3 separate regions of the Homo sapiens genome follow, and regions 2 and 3 are each linked to region 1. The links are contacts of gene promoters, found by promoter capture Hi-C in blood cells and fetal thymus (Javierre and others, 2016). All regions are on one chromosome and are shown on one strand. The core of a region is centred on a gene start or on the middle of the fragment in contact, and the rest is flanking DNA. Distances in the headings are between cores, read along the strand shown.

Region 1 (4,787 bases), core at 577-3,076:
TGGTTTAGATAATGTTAAGTGCCCTAATTCTTACTGCAGCGGACGCAGACGTTATGAAAAGGCATAAAAATACACACAGAGGGTCTTTCCACCTCAAGTCACTGAATATGAGGCATTTGTGCTCTGCCGGGTGTATTAACTTCAGCCATGTGAATATAATTTTCATTAAAGTAATCCTGTTTCAACTAGATGCTGTGACTAGAGGTGAAACGTTGCGAAAGCGTTAAAAATAGCTTACTAGTAATTTCAACATCCTGTAATTTTATCACAGATCAAGTTTCAACTGTCATACTATACAGACCTTATTCCCCATATAGTACATGTTTACTTTTTTAGCATGCCAGACCCACTTTGGAAAGATTGGTGCCAATATAATAAAAGCTGGAGGGGGGGTGTGCTGGAAGGAGTGGGAGGAGAGCGGGGAAGGGGGTGGGGGAACGTGGGGGAAGCGAGTACACCATTTTAAATCAACACTGCGAAAATGCAATCTAGCCTGGCGGAGGACCGGCAGCTGGGTCGGAGCTTGCGAGGGCTTTGCAGTCTCTGCCTGTTCCTTGTTCTGTCGCTCTTAAGTTTCTCTGTGTTTGCATAATAGCCGTGCATGCAAACCTCGCAATGCTCCAGGGCTCCAGAACAATAAATATACACATTTAAAGCCTTTATTGTCTTACGGTTCATGCCCCCGGTTTTCAACAGCTTAATTTCTGGTTGTATTTAACTAGTTTGCAAATGGATTTTTTCAGTTTCAAACTATTATTGAGGAAGCTCCCCTCCCTTTTTTGGCGGGGGAGGGGATGGGGGTGGGGTAGGAGTCGGTATATTATTCCTGTAGCGCTGGGTTATATAAACACATTATCATTTGAGAGCGCCCTTGGCGTCCATCAGCATTGTAAACACGTACTAGTGTATATACTTCAAAATTAAAGAATGCACACGCAGAACCGGGAGCCTGAATTCATATTCTGAGCAGACTCGCTTCTCGCATTTATTGATTTATCATGCATCGTTTATTGTTCCAGTCCCTAAATGCAGTCGCTGTCCGTTCAATATTGTTTGCGAAATCCTAAGATGTGTGTGCACTGCTCACTTGTCTCTTTTTTTTTTGCTGAGTATTTTTTTGCGAAGCGAACAAATGCATTAATATTTATATGTTTATATAATCGATAACCCACTTTTCCCTTCCATGTAAATAGGCATCAAAAGATAATTTAACAGATTAGTTCTCGAAAACATGGCAGTGAGGAAGCGTAATTTAACTATCAAACAAATCTACATGTCTAATAACAGCAAATCTGCTAAGAAGCATTAGAAAGAGGAGCAGCGCCCCGGAATCTCTGCAGGAAATGTTCTTTATATTAGACATATACAAGCAGGTCCTGTCAGATGCACAGTGGAGCTCGCTACCCCTCCTCTCCTCCAAAAATCTCATCAGACGATATCCCAGACAGGAGCGGTTAGAGAGAGAGGAATCACATCTCCACACAGTTTTAGGGTGCTTTTTATTTTTACAAATCTTCTTGTGTGTTTTTTGCCTTGATCCATCCTCTTCCCGCCGAGATCGTATGGCGCCTTTCTCTCGATTATGAATTTGATCAATCCATCTTTGGAAGAAAACCCACATAGTTTTTTCAGGAGCTGAAAATTGAGTCGTTATAGAAATATTAGGACATATTTTCAATCATTTCGGTGCCCGAAGGGAGGCAAGAGCTCAGTTTTATATTGAGACATTACGCCGGCTGAAGGCAGAGAATGCGTTTCCCTGCCAGGACCTGATGCAATCCATTCAAGCCAACAAGTTTGGAGAGAATGTTGAGTTCAATCAATTCAGAACGTCGAGATGGAGCCCAACTCACTCCAGGTATTTCGCTCTCCTCCGCTCCTCCGATCCCGGCACCCCCCGGCACCCCCCAACCCCCCAGCTCACCCACACCTCTGCACCCACCCACACCCCCCACAAACTTTTCACCAAACTTTTACCCTCTGCATCCCCCAAAATCATTTTTATTGTTTAAAAAAATCCCTGCACTGATCATACATACATAATGTAATTTTACCGCCTCAAATGGGGAGGTGGGTAGAAGTGGCGGTGGGGGGCCCTGAGTTTTTTTTTTTTTTTTTTTAGGGAAGCAGAAAATTTGTGGGTGCTATTATTTTTCCACCCAGCGTTATATCTGTTGGGTCGTCTGTATTAAGAGAGTGGATGTCTGTGTGTAAATGTGTCTGGGAATAGATGTTTGTGCTCTGATGGCTACATTATTTATTTGGTGTTTTTTTCCCCCCCTGCAGTGGGTCGGCTCACCGTGTGGCTTGCACGGACCTTACATTTTCTACAAGGCTTTTCAATTCCACCTTGAAGGCAAACCAAGAATTTTGTCCCTTGGCGACTTTTTCTTTGTAAGATGTACGCCAAAGGATCCGATTTGCATAGCGGAGCTCCAGCTGTTGTGGGAAGAGAGGACCAGCCGGCAACTTTTATCCAGCTCTAAACTTTATTTCCTCCCAGAAGACACTCCCCAGGGCAGAAATAGCGACCATGGCGAGGTGGTAAACCTGTCTGTCCCCCTCTTCTTTCTTTATTATTTTTCCCCCTAGTAATGCTTATTACAGGGCAAGCTTGAAAATACTGTATTCACTTCTGCAGGCAAGCAGGATCGACTCCTTTTTTAAAGGGGTAGCGCCACTAGCTGGGGCTCGAGTATTTTGCCATTGTCAGAGTTTGGCTGTCAGCTTTACAAAGAGGATCCAACTGCTGATTTTAGTCAAGATCAAATAACTTGTTCGAGAAGGGTTTTGTTCAAGGATGTGTGTGTGTGTGTGTGTGTGTGTGTGTATGTGTGTGTGTGTGTTCATTTGCTCTCCTGCTATTGCCTCTTGAACATCACATGCTTTTTATATTTTTTGCCTTTTGAAAATTTACCTTCGTGTCTGGCTCGGTCGTGTCTGGGTGGATTTCTTTCGGTGGGTTTCGATATTGTTCTTTTTTCAAAGTAAGTATTTGATATGTTTAAGAGGGCGGAAATTACGAAATGGAGGCAGAATGAGATCAAAAGCTATTGAGTTGGCAAAGACGTGTTGAATAAAGTGATAAATGACAGGTACTGGAATAATACATTCAAATAACTTGCAGATCTGCCCGGGCGGATTTCAAAGCGGTGGTGTAACAGGCACAAACACGTTAAGCATTAACAACTATCTCTCGCCCACTCCCCCTCCCCCCGGACAAGCCATTTGATGTTCTAGTTTGCAATTACTCCACGCAAAGTGGACGTCCTCCTGCGCGATCTTTGGGGGTGTGTGGGACGGGGGCGGGGGAGGGGAGGGCAGAGGGGTGTGTGCTCGCCCACTGGCCCTGCGGGTCCAGCGTTCTCCGTGCCCAGACGGCGCTCCCGGGGAGGGCGGGGAGGGGACAGAGCCTCCCCGGCACGTTTCTGGGCGGCCGCGGGGGCGCTCGCCGCGCTCCCGGGAGGACGCCGGAGGTGAGCCCGCTGTCACTGGGCGCCGGGGCGGCCGCCTCCCTTCGGCTCTGTCATTTCATGTGTGACCGCAGTTCTGCGGGCTCCCCTCCTCAGCTGACCGACCTCAGCGCCGTGGTACCTACCGAGGGGAACTATTTTGGGGAGTCTGTGCCCACGGCGCAGCGGGGAGGGAGGGCGCACTGCCGCCTGGCGAGGCTTTGTGTTGCCAAAGCGAGAGCAGGGTAATCAAACAGACTTTTGAGGGCAGCTAGTGCTGTGCCAGGCTCTCGAGCTTTCGAGGTAGGTGTAAGGATCTAAGGATCTTTTTGTTAAATGAATGGTTTCCCGTTTAACTCATCCCGGGGCTCGGAGCTGCCAGTCCTTCCAGAATTCCTCGGTTTGATCGAGTTGATAGTACTTTTGGCATTGCTAGTTCACTCCCTCTCCCCAGGATCGAATTACTCGTCAGTGGTCTATGCCGGTTAATTACTGGAGTTCGTCGAAACGTTCGCCCTCGAATCTGCCTTTTCGGAAATAAGCCCCTCCCACCTCCCCGCTCACCTCCCCCCTCCACCCTCCCCGGCCAGCTTTGGTTTTTAAATGTTCATATTTCCCGACGTCCGCCTGCAATTTTAAAAAGGTGTTGTTTGGAAATACTGTGAAAAATCCTGCAACCTACCAACAGGTTGAGCTCTTTCCCCCTCCCAAGGTCTGGCTCGGCCCCCTCCCCCGACCCAACTTTCCTGCGCAGCTGTCTTCCTCCCCCTCCCTCTCCCCCTCCTGATTTCTTATTATTTGCTTTTCAAATTTATTACTTCAACATGGCCTGTGATCTGGAAAAGGGAAGGATTAAATATCCAGAAAAGAACTGGTGCTTAACAGACTTCTGACTAAGTCCAGGAGGAAATTATTCAGTGTTTTATGGGATATTTTGTGGTCACTCTTTTTTGGGGGGCGGGGAATTGAAATTGGGATGTTTTTTAAAGACCCTGAGTTGACCCCACTTGGTACAGTTTTAATTTTTGTTGGTGTAATTAAATGGTGAATTCTGATTTAAGAATAAAGGCTATATTTGCCAAACGTTGCATCTGCTAGAAGTGTTGACAGTGAATAGATATATTTTTAAATACACGATTTCTTTTTAATTGTTCATTATGGGGAATTGAAAGGGAACCATTGTAATGATCTGTGCATTTCGTCACTGCTATATGAGCCATACCTGAGAAAATTAATCTTGCCATTTAAAAGTAAACTCTAGGGGGTTTGCGGAGGGAGATGGCTCTATTTATAATCCTCAGCTGCATATACATCGTCTAATATTATGCATGATTT
Region 2 (4,787 bases), core at 777-3,276, 210 kb after region 1:
ACCTGCAGGACCCCAGGAATGTGTCCTATGATCCTGGCTGAGTTTTCTCCCATCTGTCACCCATCTCCTAAGCTCTTCCTCTCCCATGGCCTTCTTGGGAAGTTCTTTCCAGTCAATCTTTACTGGTCATTCCTTGAGGCCAGCTTAGCCTCAGGCAGGGTGCAAGAGATGGTAAAACCAGTTTCTACACTTACAGAACTGCTGGATGCTTCTGAAGAGTCTCAGAAAACAATTAGGCAGCCATGTGAAAGTAAAGAGGTAAAGAATTTCAGCCAAGTAAGATGAAGCAGGTGTTGTTGGTTGGCTGACCCAATCTCCAACTCATCTCTTCTTTATCCATACAGCAAGGGGCTCCCCCACAACACCATTTGGGCAAAGAAATAAAAGCAGAAGTATCTGTGAGACTCCTAAAAAAGACCTTTAAAAAGGACAAATCCAACTGGCATGTTCTTTTGGCCTTTTGCTCCTTCCCTGTTTTTCTTCTTTTGGGAATGTGGCCATGAGGCTGCAGGTGGAGTCGCCATCTTACAACCAGTGGCAACATGTCTGAGGGTGAAAGTAACATGCTAAGGAGGGCACAGTGGAACAGAGCAAAGCTGAGTCTCCCCTGACATCCCTGGGCCACTACACTAGGCCTGATGATGCTCATCTACATGTTTCATTATGTGAGAAAAATAAGCTTCCCATTTGTTTAAGGTGCTATTAATGGGATGTTCTGTCATTTGCAGCCAAATCTGCTATTAAATGGTTAACATGGTGTTAAGAGGAAGTGGCTCTGATATAACAGAAAGTGCATGGGCTTTGGAATTGCATGATTTGGCTTCAAATTCTAGTACTGTGACTTATATACCAGGGTAAGTTATCACTTAACTTTTCTGGGTCCTTGTCTCCATAAGTAAAAAAATAGGGCTAATAAAGCTACTCAAACAGATGTCTGCAGTATCCATAGAAAGGGGAAGTGAAAGTAACTGTATATAATAAGTTCCAGCTCAATAAATATCTGATACAACTTTGTTGAGAATGTGGAAGGACATTGAGGAAGTGAGGCTTAGCTGGAATACAAATAAAGCAAGAGGAGGCAAAATGTAATTCAGAAGAAGTAGAGTATGGGAAAAGATTGAGAAATTTCAACAAAAAGGTGTAGTAGGCAAATCATCTTGTCTCTTTAAATAGACCTGAAATCTAGTCTCCCATAGAAACCTCAGGCCGAATGCAACTGTGGCCCAGAAGAATGAGAGAAGAAGGTATCCTTTAGCCCAGGGCTGGAAACCCTCCAGAGAATTCCCAACACCAAAAAGGAAAGAAATATCCTCATTAACATTTCCCTTCTCGTCTTCCTTGTTCCTTTTTCTGCTTTTCCTCCCTCCCTTCCTTTTTTCCTTTTTCCTTCTTTCCTAGATCAAAATTATTTCAAAACCATGGAAGGCAGACACAGTTTGTTCTGACTCACAGTGGATAGAAGATAGGGCCTGGATTTTACACCTTCTAATCTATTTTAGACACAAAGAAAATTTCTGCATTCTCCTATTCCCTCCCGCAAAGAAAAGGCATCACAATGTAGCCCCTGGATGTCAAATAAAGAGTCAGGAGCCCTCGGTCCTGCTCTGTGTATGTTCTTGGATGGTCTCCTAACCTCCAAATTTCAATTTTCTCATTTATCAATTGGGAGTATGAGGAAGGGGGCGGGCAATAGGGGAGGAGCTACCTAGGTAAGCTCTCAAGTTCCTTAACTTCTATTTATTAGCTTCTTGCAGTCCCTGGGGCGATAAGAGAAGGTTAAATTTCTCATTAATCCTATAAATATCTATGGAGCACCAACCCTGTACCAGGAACTGGTTTAACCACCGGAAATACTACTATGAAAGAAATAGATGGCATCCTATATCTTGATGAAGGAGACAGAAAATAAACACACAAACAAAGAAATTGGACAATTTCAGAGAAGCAGTGAAGAAGAAAATACAACTAAGTGATGGAATAGACTGACTGGGAATGAGGGAGCTACTTGAAAAGAGATGGGTCAGGGAAAGTCCTCAATGCGATGTAAACTTTGTGCTTAGCTGAAATGAAGTGCCAGCCTTGCCCCTCTCCTGGCAGGACTCCGGCCTGATCTTTGGGTACTCAGACTCATTCTCAGTGCAAACTTGTTTCTTTGAGCCTCTTGGTTCCTGAACAATATCCCCAGTCTATGATCTTAATGGGCTCACACTATGGGTCTACATGGCCCATTGGAATATTCAAAGTGGGTACAGTCAATCCCCACAGTGGCCAAAGGAGAAAATAAGGAAGCCAGGAGCTGTGCAAGCCAGTCCAGGAAGACAGGCAGAATATAATGCATTTCTGTTTAATCTACTTTTTATCTCATCTTTTTGATTTTTTTAAGTGGGGATAGGGTTTTCTTTACAATGAATATGATATATTGCGTGCATAACAATAATAGTGTATACGTAACAGTGCTTGCTGGTACTTAGACATTGTTCAAAGTGCTCACATGTATGAACTCATTTAATTTTCATGACAACTTTATGAGGTACATACTGATATTTTCCCCATTTTACAGACGAAGGAACAGAGGCACTGCCAAGTAAGTGATTTGCCCAGCTTGTGAGTTGCAGAGCTGGGACTTGGAGCTAGGTAGTCTGATACCACAGTAACTTCTTTTAACCAATTATGCTGTGCACCTTCATGTATGAAATGTGTTTGTTTTAAAGGATATCTGTAGTTTACTGGAGATTCAAGTCCAAAATTTTTAGAACTCTTTTTTCAAAAATACTGGTGAGTGTGACAGTGTCCACAAAGTCAGACAGACCCAGGTTTCAATCCCTATTAAAAAAAAAATATTGGCCAGGCGCAGTGGCTCACACCTGTAATCCCAGCACTTTGGGAGGTCGAGGCGGGCAGATCATGAGGTCAGGAGATCGAGACCATCCTGGCTAACACGGTGAAACCCCATCTCTACTAAAAATACAAAAAATTAGCCGGGCGTGGTGGCGGTCGCCTGTAGTCCCAGCTACTCGGCAGGCTGAGGCAGGAGAATGGCGGGAACCTGGGAGGTGGAGGTTGCAGTGAGCCGAGATTGCGCCACTGCACTCCAGCCTGGGCGACAGAGCGAGACTCCATCTCAAAAAAATATATATATATATATATATATTCATGACATTTGTTAAAGACAGTAAGCCAGACTATTCAAGGGAGACTACTACAATGGAATTTTGCCAGGGGGGAGAGATTGGCCTCAACTCTGAATACAACAATGAAAAGTAGAGATTTATAGCCAAGGGGCAGGGTAGGGTCAGTGGATGGAAAATTACTAACAGTAAACATTTTATAAGGGTAAACAAGGGGTAAGGCAGATTCTGGCTAAACCTACTTGACAAGCTTCTTGCTGAAGGAAGGCCAGGGTGAAAAAATATCCAGAGATGGGGATGAGGAATTTCATCAGATATCAAGGGTGGGGGATATTTGCTAAACTGACCCAACAGGATTCTTACTAAAACTGGACTAAATAGGCCAAGGACAAAGCCTTCAGGGTGAGGCCTCATCAAAAAGATGACTCAGAGGAGCCTGATTAAAGTTTGGTTAAGGAGAGAATCTTGGTTATCCCCAACATTGTTGCCTCCTAGCTGTGTAAACTTGAGTGGGTTAACTAACCTCTCTGAGCTTCAGATTTCTCATCTTGAAAGTAGATATTATACTATCTCCCCTACACATTGTAAGGACTAAATGAAATAATGCTCAATAACTACAGGTTGAATGTCTCTAATCAAAAAACCTAAAATCCAAAATACTCCAAACTCCGAAACCTTTTGAACACTGACATGATACTCAAAGGAAATGCTCGTTGAAGTATTTCAGATTTCGAATTCTTTGGATTTGGGATGCAGAATCAGAACGTATATGTAATGTAAATATTCCAAAATCTGAAACATTTCTGGTCCCAAACATTTCAGATATGGGATACTCAACCTGTACTTAGCACATGGTCTGATCTAGTAAGCATTACCAATATCACTGTTAATGTGAAAGCTCTTGCCAGGGAATCAAGTCATTCCTGATGAAACCGAGCACTTGAAACTCTTAAATGCCACTGGTAAGAGTACAAGTTGACACAGCATTACTTCCGTGCAGTTTTGTGGTATCTATCAAAACATAAAACGTGGCACTGAGTCTCTGGATTCAACAATTTCTTTCTGGAAATGTATCTGAGGAAATAATAGCACAAGGGCACAAAGACATGTGTCTGAGGATTTCCAGTGCATCATTATTTAATATAAAAAACTTGGAAGATAACCTAAATGTCCAGCAGTAGGAGATTGGTTAAATACATGATGGTATTCATAAAATATATTCAATGATAAGTCAGTACAACAAAAATATATTAAGTGCAAAAAGAAGGTTACAAAATATTAGGTTAGTGCAAAAGTAAAAGCAACTGTGGTTCTTGCCATTAAAAGTAATTACCACAATTACTTTTGCATCAGCCTAATAATACAAGTAATATGTTCCCATTTTGTAAAAACAGAATAAACAATAAATGTAATTAATACAAAATGTCTGTGTTTTATGTATAGGCATATGAACATAAAGATAAACACCAAAATGTTACCAGCACAGATAGTCCCTCACTTACAATGATTTCATACAGGATTGTTTTTACTTTACGATGCTGCGAAAGTGATATACATTCAGTAGAAATCATACTTCAAGTACCCATATAACTATTCTGTTTTTCACTTTCAGTCAGTATTCAATACATGACATGGAATATTCACCACTTTATTATACAA
Region 3 (4,787 bases), core at 600-3,099, 170 kb after region 1:
TCACTGTATGTATAAGGTACACCACTGATGTCCTAGTACAAAGTAGCACTGATATCTCAGGTGAGTGTTCCGAAAATAATGTCTAAGGAACCACAGGCTACTTGTTTTTGACTTATGAGTCAAGGCTTCATTCAGAACTTTTTTTTTTTTTTTTTTTTTTTTGAGACGGAGTCTTCCTCTGTCACCAGGCTACAGTGCAGTGGCATGATCTCGGCCCACTGCAACCTCTGCCTCCCAGGTTCAAGCGATTCTCCTGACTCAGTCTCCCAAGTAACTGGGACTACAGGCACGTGCTACCACGCCCAGCTAATTTTTGTATTTTTAGTAGAGACGGGGTTTCACCATGTTGGCCAGGATGGTCTCGATCTCTTGACCTCATGATCCACCCACTTCGGCCTCCCAAAGTGCTGGGATTACAGGCGTGAGCCACCACACCCAGCCAGAACATTTTTACTAGAAACTCTGTCCCTGTTTTCAAATAGATTCTGTTTTGAGAGTGGACATCCCTGTCCTTTATATGCAAATGCCCTCAACACCTGAACCATCAAACATAAAGGAGCAGATAGCAATTAAAGCTTGAAAAAGGAGTGTATCTCAGCTGTTAGCTCATCTAGTTAAAGAATGAAAACATCAATCAAATTAATTACAAAGTATCACATGGTAAAAAAAAAAAAAAGAGAGAAGGTTTGGCATGGAGAGAAGGACTCAACCCATAGTAGTGTGTGTGTGTGTGATTGAGCAGGTCTGTGAATAAAAGTAGGATTCTTCTGAAGATTGTGTACTTTTGATTATTTACTTCTTTCAGGAGATTCCTGAAAGCTTTCAATCACATTAGAAAATTTTAGTAGATATACCACAAACTTTAGCAATTAAGAAACATGATTAAAGATGTCTTAAAATTTTTCTCTTCTCTCCCTATTCTTGGGACCAGATTGGATATTCCATAAAGGTTTGCTTTCTCACTCGATTAAACTTTTTGAAGAGTGGTGTCACTTTTCCAAATCCAGAATTTGGTCAGTGTATGAGTCAGGGTGCAGTAAGGAAAATGGAAACCACACTGGGTATTCAACAAAGAGACTTCACCATAGGCAGTTGCTTAAACAGGGGTTGGTGTGAGGCACTAAGTTAACACGGGGGCAACAACTGTAAGTTCCCTAGGGTGACAGAACAGAGAAGAGAGGTTGGTTGTCACCACCCAGAAGTTTGGAGAATGTGCCTCAGAGCTGGGGTTCAGGTCCCTGGTAAGAAGGAGTCACCCAACCAGCACTGATGCTTCGGGAGCTCAGAGGTGGAGCACTGCAGAGCTGGGCTGAAACCTGAGGAGGCGGTGCTCCCTGGCTGCTGCCAGACCTCAGAGGACACGCGCTGAAACTGCTGGGGGACTGTTGAAACTAGAGGCTGCAACCCACTGCTGCTGTTAATGCATTGTGGAGTTGACACTTATGTGAACAAGTGAAATGGAAAGGAGATTCCTTTTCTCTCCCTGCCTCCCAGGACACACTGTTTGCAGAATAGTAACAGGAAGATAGCTGACAAAAGGGATGTGTAATTTACAGAATTCCAGTCCTAGCATCAGCAAGCAGAGTACAGAAGGGTGGATTTGGAGTTGAAAGACAATAGGCCATCCGCCAAGTGGGAACCCCATATGCAGAGCCCATTTTATGTGTGGCAACACCAAAAATTGGCAGTGTGGAGCCTCCAACTGTGTTGTTGGAGCATAGCTGTCCCAGGGTGATTAGCAAGGTCCTTTACCTTTCCTTGGTATTTCCTTTTTGCCATCTAGACTCCTCTCACATCCTTGTGATCAGATGCAACCGCTAACTACCAAAATTTGAAGATCATTGATTTTATTTACAACAGTGCCTCTCTCAATGTTCAATCAATCATTCTCCAAGAGGAATCACCCATAATCCTATGTGTTGTGGTGGGGAGAAAAAGCTAGGATTACCGTTCTAGATGTCTTCCTTTTAATTGGTTCTACCAAAGAAGGGCAGAGGACATGCACATATATCCAAGAAGAGACTGAAGCTCTGGGCTAAAACTTCATGATTATGGTGGATTTCATTCATTCTTGCTAGTCACAGGTTGCATGAACAGATAAAACAGAGATGACTGGATTGGTGAAGGAACACTGTTTTCAAGAAGGGTCAATGAGTTGAGAATGGTCAGGACTTTGTGGGCAAATATCTAGTCTGGAAATGCCCTTGGAATTTTGTAAAGCCTTCCAAACCAAATCAGGATGATGAGAGCTCTTCCTACTAGGCTGCGGGTTCTTCTGTTCTCATTCTTTTCACTCCGATAAAGAGAACTGCTCTTTTTCCTATTTCCCTGCCACCAGCTTTGCTTTCCTAGAAGATGAAGAAGTGAGTGATCTCTATGCATTATCCACTGATTTATTTTTCATGCACTGTGGTTCATGTTTCCAGTAAACGTTTTCATTTTACAACAAGAAAAATGTAGCCAGTTCCTCAGTAAAATGTTACTTGTATATTAGTTGAGCACTTTTGGTTTATTAATGAGTGCAATAATGAAAGTGTGGGTTGTTGAAAAGAATCAATGGGTGTTTTTATTTAAGGCAAAGCAGAAATGGTACAATGCTTGTGAATACATCATTGTCACTGAAGGCCTGACTCGTACAAACTTGCCTCTGATTGGTTTAAATCAAATAGGTCCAAGCACTTCATAAAAATGTCTTTGTCAGCCGGGTTTTGCTTCCAAATCTATTCATCTCTGTCAGTTTTTAATATTAGTACCAGGCTCCTGGCCATAGTCCATTAGTACTGTACTTAATTGCTCATGTTACAGATGATTACCAATATAAAAAGCATTAATGTTTTCCCATCGCAAGGCTGTTGCTATGTAGATGTCTCAAACTCAGCAAAGCTTATGAAATGTGGTTATTCTGGACATTTCTTGCTCAGGATTTATAGATGAAGTTACTGTAGCTTTTGATGCAAAGAAAAATACCCACCTCATTCTTTCTAAGTGGAACATTTTCTTTCTTGTCTAACTCTTTACTTAAAAGTAACCAGTTCACTTTATTTTTATCAGTAAAGGAACAAAAAGGAAAACGACTACTTTTATGGAATTCTCTTAGCTTGATTTTCTGGAATAGTAAATCACTTTAAAGGCTTTGTTTTCACATGCAGATTTCCCTTTTTAAAAAATGTTTTTAAAGTCCATGCAGGGGGAAAAAAATCTTTACTCAGAATGCTAGATTACTGGTTTTAATTTTCCTGAATAAATTACATGGTCTGTTTCTGTGGAGCACATGAAGTTGTTATTAGGGATTTTAAAAGGAGCATTAAAGCAAAAGTACTTTATGATGTGCATTTTTGAGTATTTAGAAAATCAAAATCATAAACAAATGTATTTGTTTGTGAGGGAAATTAGCAACTATTCTTCATCTTCTTGCACACATAATGCCTAATTTCAAATCCAACCTTTTGCTTTTACCATAAGCATTCCTTGGACAAGATTGTCACCCTGCATGGCTGAGGCAGCTTTCTTTGCAGGGACTTAAGGTGAGCTGTACCCAAGCCAGATGTACTTGGGCAGATACTGGGTGATAGCTGGAGCTTCTGCCTTTTTTCTCTGAAGGTATAAGGTAGAGTGTGGGAGGCTTCATGTTTTGAATAAGATAAGCATGTGCTTTAAGTTAAGGACCAAAAATATATCAGGTTCTAAGGAACCCACCTAATCATACCATGGATAAAGGCTGGGGAAGGAAAGGTGAGTTACAGTTCTGTGCACATCAAGGACATGATTCCATGTATTCTTGCTCATTTGGACACCCTTGGAGTTAATAGATACGCAATTCAGAAAGTCACAGGCCACATCTCAGAATTGTATATTTAAGAGGACCCCTAGCAACTCCCTAGACCAGTGCTACTCAAATGAGATTTTCTGACTTGTCCATGAACTGTTTTCTACTAGCCCATAACAAGCTAATAAGCACAGCAATTGCGAATAAGCATTGATACACTTACGCTGAAATTTGCCAGAATAACATTATGTCTGTTGAAGCTAATAAAAACTTGGGGCTTGTGTTTTGTATGCCTCCTTTTGAATTCCATTTTTCTAGTAATTCATTTTTATGGTTGTTTACAAAAGCATCAGTCAGCATCAGATGGGAAATTTAGAAAACTCGTCTTTCACCCAGGTCAGTGGAGAAGGTCCGCTCCTACATCTTGGCCACAAACTCAGATATTTATGGAGGCAGGTAGCAAAGATGAGTGCAGGGGCCACGGCTGGAAAGTGTGAAACTGGCACGCACAGCCCGGGCCAGAGAGCCCAAAGGGACCAGCCCACACTGTTGCTGTAGGTAGATGCCGTCTGTGCGCTTCCTGACCTTCTATGTTTTCAAGATATTTTTTTAATGTGAAATAACCTAACTTACAAACACTGGCTCCAATATTTAAAAAAATATTTTATATAAGCTAAATCAAACATGCCCAGGGGCAAAATATAGCCTACAGGATGCCAAGTTCCACAAAGACTGAAATATGCTTGACACTAGGCTCTCCAGCCTCTGATACAGCGCCCTGCAGTGGGAGGGCCTAGAGGAAGCTTCAGGGTTCCAGGCGCTCTTACTCTGCTCTACACACTCTTCCGTGTGCTGAGCAAAACACCCTCTGTGGCTTCCCATTGACCTTGCCTTGCCTTCGGAGGACGACTCGCCACATGTCTGCTCCCTTTGCTCTGATCAGCGTCCAGGAGCTTGTCAAAGCTCCTCTTTCACTTCAGGTCTTCCTGTTCCATTCAACCAAGCCTCAGAGCGTCAGTAA

What was found. Contacts are between HindIII fragments. The CHiCAGO score rates a contact against its expected background, and 5 or more counts as called.
Region 2: a fragment that was not itself captured here is called in contact with the fragment with the promoter of ARID5B in region 1 in 1 of 17 cell types (total B cells); the score reaches 6.2 in total B cells.
Region 3: a contact is called between a fragment that was not itself captured here and the fragment with the promoter of ARID5B in region 1, in 3 of 17 cell types (activated CD4 T cells, non-activated CD4 T cells and naive CD4 T cells). The highest score is 8.2, in activated CD4 T cells.

Annotation. Positions count from the first base shown.
Region 1 is chr10:61,899,873-61,904,659 of GRCh38, forward strand. ARID5B (AT-rich interaction domain 5B) reads left to right here and starts at 1,827. Exons shown (of 10, transcript NM_032199.3): 1 at 1,827-1,858; 2 at 2,287-2,541. The coding sequence starts at 1,838. RefSeq lists silencers at 349-518, 3,259-3,578 and an enhancer at 1,517-2,019. The HindIII fragment of the contact is 3,094 bases long and covers 1-2,611 here.
Region 2 is chr10:62,109,102-62,113,888 of GRCh38, forward strand. No RefSeq gene overlaps it. Among named protein-coding and RNA genes, the nearest start is that of LINC02621, 150 kb to the right of the region's middle. RefSeq lists enhancers at 651-700, 731-800. The HindIII fragment of the contact is 2,699 bases long and covers 678-3,376 here.
Region 3 is chr10:62,070,893-62,075,679 of GRCh38, forward strand. The region is part of intron 8 of ARID5B (AT-rich interaction domain 5B); the gene reads left to right. Among named protein-coding and RNA genes, the nearest start is that of ARID5B, 170 kb to the left of the region's middle. RefSeq lists an enhancer at 1,085-1,224. The HindIII fragment of the contact is 2,064 bases long and covers 818-2,881 here.